Regions from separate parts of the Homo sapiens genome. Here region 2 is linked to region 1. Evidence: promoter capture Hi-C in human tissues and cell types (Jung and others, 2019). All regions are on one chromosome and are shown on one strand. Each heading gives the region's core, a stretch centred on a gene start or on the middle of the fragment in contact. The rest is flanking DNA. Distances are from core to core; before and after follow the strand shown. Region 1 holds the start of LOC101927344 (a long non-coding RNA gene). Region 2 holds the start of CCDC134 (coiled-coil domain containing 134).

What was found. Contacts are between HindIII fragments. The study calls those that stand out against the background at their distance.
Region 2: a contact is called between the fragment with the promoter of CCDC134 here and a fragment that was not itself captured in region 1, in 1 of the 25 tissues and cell types used here (spleen).

The regions. Positions count from the first base shown.
Region 1 is chr22:42,436,613-42,440,101 of GRCh38, forward strand. It overlaps LOC101927344 (a long non-coding RNA gene), which reads left to right and starts at 1,555. Exons shown (of 6, transcript NR_188414.1): 1 at 1,555-1,720. It also overlaps a transcript of NFAM1 not described here. RefSeq lists enhancers at 750-849, 1,590-1,639, 1,603-2,104. The HindIII fragment of the contact is 3,608 bases long and covers 436-3,489 here.
Region 2 is chr22:41,798,962-41,802,538 of GRCh38, forward strand. CCDC134 (coiled-coil domain containing 134) reads left to right here and starts at 1,718. Exons shown (of 7, transcript NM_024821.5): 1 at 1,718-1,805. MEI1 (meiotic double-stranded break formation protein 1) reads left to right here. Exons shown (of 31, transcript NM_152513.4): 31 at 293-493. The coding sequence ends at 338. RefSeq lists enhancers at 539-1,525, 1,301-1,380, 1,451-1,530 and silencers at 1,001-1,090, 1,681-1,740. The HindIII fragment of the contact is 18,239 bases long and covers 1-3,577 here.

The DNA of each region.
Region 1 (3,489 bases), core at 990-3,489:
AGAATCCCCTCTCAGTTCCAGCTGCTTGTATTTTTGGCTCTTAAGCATTTGTTTGATGCCAGACACAGTTCTAAAGGCTTTTCTTGTACTTCAGCCCTCATAGAAACCTTGTATGGGAGGTGTTATGACTGCTCCTGCTTCGCAGATGAGGAAACTGGAGTTCAGAGAACACAAGCCACTTGCCCAAGGCCACACAGCGAAGACGCAGTGGAACAAGGGCTCCAGCTCCCGGGACCTGGCTTTAACCACTGCGCTCTCCTGCAATTCACCTGGTCCTTTAATCAGGGCAGATATTATACGCCTCAGCTGACATATTTAGTGAGGGAGAAAAACAGTGACTCACCTGCTTGAGGTCACAGAGGGGACCCGGGCTTTTCTACTGGACACATACCATGGTCCCCCTGCTATGCTCAGTTTCTGGGAGGCAGCAAGGAGCTAGTGCCAACTCCCCAACCCCGCCACACCAAAAGGAATCTTCAAGATCTGGAAGAAACAAAAAACAAAGGTGGCATGATTTTTTCTTTTTGTCTTTTTTTTTTTTTTTTTCTGAGATGGAGTCTCGCTCCGTCACCCAGGCTGGAGTGCAGTGGTGCGATCTTGGCTCACTGCAACCTCCTCCTCCCAGGTTCAAGTGATTCTCCTGTCTCAGCCTCCCAAGCAGCTGGGATTAAAGGCACCCACCACCACACCCGGCTATGTTTGTATTTTTTAGTAGAGACGGGGTTTTACCATGTTGGCCAGGCTGGTCTCGAACTCCTGGCCTCAAGTGATCTGCCCGCCTCGGTCTCCCAAAGTGCTGGGATTACAGGTGTGACCTACCATACCCGGCCACAATTTTCAACATTTATTCCACGTCCACCATGTGCCAAGGTTCTGGGAGGCTCGGGCCCTTGACACAACCATGTCCCTGAAAGAGACGAGCACAGAACCAGGAGGCCCTCAGACAACAGACGCCAGAGCCACCAAGTCCCCCACTAACGGTGCCACCCACTTCCCCTCCTGGCCACGCAGGACGGCCCCAGGGTTGGCCTGTGCTGATGGTGCCACCTGGTGGTAGACATGGGAACGCCCTCACCTGAGATTTCCTCTCCGTGACCCTTCTTCCCCCTCTAGGGGTCCTGGGCTGCCCTGAGGCCACCGCCTAGCAAGATCAAGATAGGGCTTGAGCGGCAGTGGGATAGGGCAGTGGGGGTTCCGGGGGGGTCCGGTGCAGGCAGAACCAAGAGTGTGCCGGCGGAGGGCTGTCGGTACAGGGTGCAGGGCGTGGCGGCTGCAGGACCTCAGCTTGCCTCTTTAAATCCCTTCCTGGGCACCGCGGTGGCCCGGCCCTTTCCCCTCGTGCTGTTTCTGCTGGAAACGCCGCACAGTCTCCTCGGGGGCAGCCGCCAGCGGAAACGGTTATTGGCCGCCAGGCAAGCCAGTCCCATCCTTCCCAGCAACTGGGACTTTCCGGGCAGGGCTCCCCAGCGCGGGTTCAGCTAATTAAGGAAGCAATTAGCCTCCCCTGAGGCTATTCATGCTTCCTCACCCACAGTTCTCAGGTTCTGTGAGACCAGAGCCTCAGTCTCCCGTGAGCAGAGGGTGTGTGTGTGGCTGCCACTATTCTGCAGACACGCTGGCTCCACCCCAGAGAGTTGCAGGGCCAGGAAATCTGCATTTAAACAGACCCTGGCTCTCACACTTCGGAAACTGCCCGAAGCACCTCTCAAATATGGGACAGGTTTGATACTCCCTCCCCCTCTCCGTTCCCCCGCTTCTCCCTTCTTCGCCCTCCTTCCCACTTCCTCCCTCCTCCCCGCCCCTTCTGCCCCCCACCTGCCCTCCCTCCCTCCCTTCCATCCTTCCTCCTCCTCCCGGCAACCTTTCTCCCTTCCCCACTCCCTCCCCTCTCCCTCCTCCTTGTAGGGACAGCGCCGCGTCCTGGGAAGGGCAGGGGCTCTGGCGTGAGCTCAGTTTGCATCCCAGCCTTGTCTCCTCAGGCGTTGAAGTGGGGGGCAGTTTCTGCATCCACAAAATGGGGATGAAATACCCACTTTGTCAGGGTTTAGTGAAGAACAATGGAAGTAAACGAAGTGAGAGCACTCTGCAAACAGTGAGATGTTGATAGAAAAGTAGTTTTAGGCCAGGCGAGGTGGCTCACGCCTGTAATCCCAGCACTTTGGGAGGCTGTGGCGGGTGGATCACCTGAGGTCAGGAGTTTGAGACCAGCCTGACCAACATGGAGAAACACCGTCTCCACTAAAAATACAAAATTAGCCGGGCATGGTGGCGCACGCCTGTAATCCTAGCTACTCGGGAGGCTGAGGCAGGAGAATCGCTTGAACCCGGGAGGTGGAGGTTGCAGTGAGCCGAGATTGCGCCATTGCACTCCAGACTGGGCAGCAAGAGCAAAACTCTGTCTCACAAAAAAAAAAAAAAAAAAAAAGAAGCTTCCAGGAGTAGACAGGAGGGCTCGCAGGAGGGACTGGGGTGTTCCTTCCAGGCTGAGAGGCTGAGGCTGGAGAGAGACGCAGGGGAAGTGGAATGAGAAGGCCTCCCTCCTCCCCTAGGCCTCCTCTGATGAAAACTACCTTCTCTCTCCAGCATCCACAGTCAGATGCATAAAACCATTTATTTTTTCTGTTCAGAAATTACTGGTATTGCAACTAGTATTGATTTTTACTGTTTTCATTTCACATGTACAGATTTTCAGCTGCATTCAGAGTTCAGCAGCTTTCGGGCGGTTCCTGGAAGCCCGACGTCATTTATAATCCGGTTTCTGAGTGGGAACGGCTTTCTCTGGGAGACAGCTCCTTGGGAAGTTAGAGACTTCCTGCACTTATTGGACTCGAACATCCATTCTGTACAAAATGCCCCGCAACACTGAGGAGATGCTGTTTTGTTTTTGTTTGTTTGTTTGTTTTTTCGAGACGGAGTTTTACTCCTGTTGCCCAGACTGGAGTGCAATGGTGCGATCTTGGCTCACTGCAACCTCCGCCTCCCGGGTTCAAGTGATTCTCCTGCCTCAGCCTTCTGAGTAGCTGGGACTACAGGCAAGATGCTGTTTTAGGACCAGAAATCTCCCAGGGGTGTGCAGATCAACAGTAATCCCAGTCTGCCCTCCATCGTCGGAATAGAATCAGAGGGAGGGAAAATCCGCCTTTGGATCTCTGGACCATGATCTTTCCAGCAGGTCACAGGTGACCAAAGGCTTCACTTGCAGAAGCCCCCTCCCCAGGAAACTCCCCTGGGGCAAAACGAAAGTGTTTTGGGCGTTTTTGTCTGCCTGGCAGGGAGCCTGTGCCTGAGTCACTGTTTCTCTTGAGCTTCCCTTTTCTTTTCTTTCCTCCCGGTGTCTGCTGATTTTGTGTCAAACAAGGAGCATGGGGCCAGGCCATCTCTGAGCTGCCCGTGGGACGGGGACTTGGGCACTTGCCAGGAGCGGCTGGCCTAGGAGTGGGCGGGAGGCCCTTGGTCACCCACCCCAGGGCCTGGCTTCAGGTGGCCACA
Region 2 (3,577 bases), core at 468-2,967, 640 kb before region 1:
CAGTCCAGAGATACTGCAGTCCAGAGGTGTGTGTGAGGGTAGTTTGCTTCCTCTGCACCCCTCTGGCTGCCTCCCTGGCTCTCTTCCTTGCCCCTTCCGTGCAATAGTTCCCTGTTGAATAGCAACTACCTAGCCCAGGTGTTCAGGACCCAATTTCAGAATCCATCCCACTATTCTCAGGAGCACTTCTGTTCTTGCCTGACCATTCTTGACTGTTTTGGGCTCTGGAAGTGTGATGCCCCCATGGTTGGCCCCACTTCTCTGCTGTTTTCCTCTCATGTTTTGCTGCCAGCTGCCTGGGAGGGGTGGCTGTATCCCTGTCCCACATCAGAAACTGATCCTCAGGACTTGAAGGCCCAGAAGTGGAGAGAGAATGAGACCTGGAGACAAAGGGCATAATTGTTGGGGAAATGGATGACAGCTGAAGCTATTCATATGGAGCCATATACTCTATTGTTGAAATAGAATAAGGAAATAAAATGATACACTCACATACCTGCGCGAGCTCTCCAAAAACACTGTACTACCTTGTCTACCAGGAGCTGGTTTCTCAGCCAGTTGGATAAGGGATTGTTTCAGCAAGGAGACTGATGGCCTCCTCAGGGAAGGAGGGACGGGACAGGATTTGTTCTTGTAACAGCATTCAAGGAGTCAGCTGGGTGCCTCAGCTGTACTCAGAGAACACCAGTCAGGCCATCCTGGGGCTGGCAGGGCAGAGAAAGGCCTAGGGGTTGGGGCTGCTGCGATTCAACAGCTCCCAGAGGCACTTGACCTGCTCCCTCGCCTCACGTGGAGGTGGATAGAGGTAAACTTTCCAGGCAAGGAGGGTCAAATTCTCAGCTTTCCTATCAGAACGAAACTGTCCCAGCCTCAGCCCTTGTCTGGCTAAAGTAGGTCACCTCTGTCCCTTCCCGTACAGCCGTCATCAGAACTGGTGTTTATGCACCCTCGTGGGTAGATCCTGGGAATGCATGTCCAGCTTGGTCCCCGGCATGAGGTCTGCGCTCGACAGTGCCTGCCCTGCGCCTGTTCTGGGGAGCTCAGCCCAGACCGGGCCTCCAGCTCCCTTCCCGCCCGGCAGGGGCCCCGGGCCCGGAGATGGCCACGCCACGCTGCCTTCTCGGGTCTGACTGTCCTGATCCTGCGCAAAAGTGGGGCTGCACTCGGCCTAACGAACGGACGAGGAAGCCCCCGCCGCACTTGGCTTATTAGTTGGTGGACCGGAGGGGCAAGGAGGGGATGCCCGAATCCTGCACTGAGTCTCTGAGGTCCTTAAAGAAGAACAAAAGTGCTAGTCACCGCCCACTAAACTCACGTTGCGATCTAAAGTTTAAAAACTCGGCCACAGACGACGACACAGTTTCAGGGAGGGCGCGCAGAAGGTCGCCCGGCCGACAGGAGCTGGGACCCCAGTTTGCTGATTCACGCCTTAAATTGGGCACAGACCCCACCCACAGATTTAACTTCCTCCAACACAAGCTAAATCCAGGGCCACGTACCCAGGGCCCGCAGGAGGGACAGGACGAGGATGGTGCCCACAGCGCGCTGGAGGCACGCCAGAGCCTGGAGGGGCAGGCAGGGGCGGTGGAGCGGGGCCGGAAGTGAGGCTAGCGGAGCCCCGCAGTGGCGGCTCGCGCTCATTGGCCGGGAGCAGCGCGGTGGGCGGGACGGAGCTCGGCGGTCTGCGCTCGGTTGCTAGCCGTTTGCTCCCGCTTTCAGTTGCTTTGCTGTTAGCCTGTTGGACCTTCGAGCCTAGCTGCTCGCACAGGACTCGGCCACCTGCCCTTCCTGCACCGACTGGCCAGGTAGGTGGCTGTAGGGGCCGCGGGCTGCAGGTTCCCGGGAAGGATAATGAGAGAACCGAGGGCCTCGAACCGGCTGCAGGTGGTGGGGAGGGAGTTTCGTGGACCTGGACGCCTCTGTTCCTTGAGAAGGCTCGCTCCCTCCTCCGGGAGCTCCGAAGGCTCGGGGTCAACCACCTGGGCCCCCGACCCCGGTAGCTGGCTCAAGGCCCGCCACTACCTGGTACCTCTGCAGGAGTTCAGAGCCTCATGCTGAGCCAGGAGGAGCTCCGGGTGACGCATACGGCAGGATCGGGATTGAGAGGCTGAAAAAGTGAGTTTAACAGTAGAGAAAGCAGGACCTGTCCCGCAGGCTGCTGTTCTGGCTTTTCTTTCCCACTACCTGCTTCAGTCATTGCCAGCTGTCTGGTATTCTCCTTGGCCCCTAAAGTTTTGCCCTAGCCTGGTTCTGGTTCCCTTGAGTTTGGAGCAGGAGGTGGAATGTGGAGGGTCCTGGGTGAACTTGGACTATTCCTTCTCTAGGTTTCACTTATCTCGTCTGCTTGGGGGTAGGGGGTTCTCCGGATGATCTCTGCAGCCCCTCACTGTCTGTAACTGAGCATCTCTCCCCTGGGGCAGGTGTCCTGGTAGTTCAGTAGCCAGCTCTGATCTCAGGTAGCCTGTGCTCATTTACAAAGAGTCAGAAGACAGAGCACTGGACTTAGAGCCAAACAGACACTTGGTTCAGCCTGGGAATAGCTGTGTGACTTTGGGCAGTCACCTCATTTTTCTGTGCCTTGATTTCACATTGGTAACATTGGGGAGTTGTAATCTGAGTGTGAGACCTCTCCTGACCACTTTATGTAATCTTGTACCTGACCGACACCCTCTCATCCCTCTGTGCTTATTTTACAAGTTTATTGATCAACTCTTATCCCTACTAGAGACAAGTACCATGAGTGCAGAGATTTTTGCTTATTTATTGCTGTATTCCCGCCTCTAGAACAGTGCCTAGAGTGTGGTAGGTACTGTCAACCTAAATAGCAGAGTGAGAGACTCTAAAAAAATGATGTTTACTTGGGAATAGACATTGTAGTGACAATATGTGTGCCATAGTAACCTGTGTACGTATTTGGGGAGGTAAAGGAAGACAAAGGTTTTGAAAAGGAAAAATGAGGATTACATGATTATTTTGAGATAGTTATCCTTGGCTACAAGGATGAATAGCAAGAGTGGTGCTAGTCTGAGGTTGGACAGGCAGTTGCAGGGCAGATGTCCTCACAGAAAGATTTTTCTGTGTAAGTTTGCAGTGGCCTTTGTGCAGGGTTGTGGTTTTTGCATTTTTTGTGATCTTGTTATCAGTCATTTGTGCATAAGAACCCTCTTTTCACAACCTTCCTCGGTTTTATTTGTCAGAGTTGTTGTTCTTGTTTTTTCCCATTGGAGAATCATGCTTTAAATTTGTCAGAGTTTTTAACACAAACGACTCTGTTTTGATTCTAACAACTTTCATATTTCCCCCTTTTGGTCAAGATCTTTCTCCAAAAACTTTACTGATCAGTCATCCTGTAGTTAGGTCCCTCAGTGCTGGGACGGACCTATCTTGGGTTGTTGGTCTCTTGCCATGTTGGAGACTAGGAGTCTCCAGTTGGAGACTGGTGACTAGGAGTCAGTGTCAAAACCCTTGTAGTGGTTGGGAGCAGGGGCTCACGTCTGTAATCCCAGTACTTTGGGAGGTCAAGGAGGGAGTATCACTTGAGTCCAGAAGTTCAAGACCAGCCTGGGCAACCGCCAAG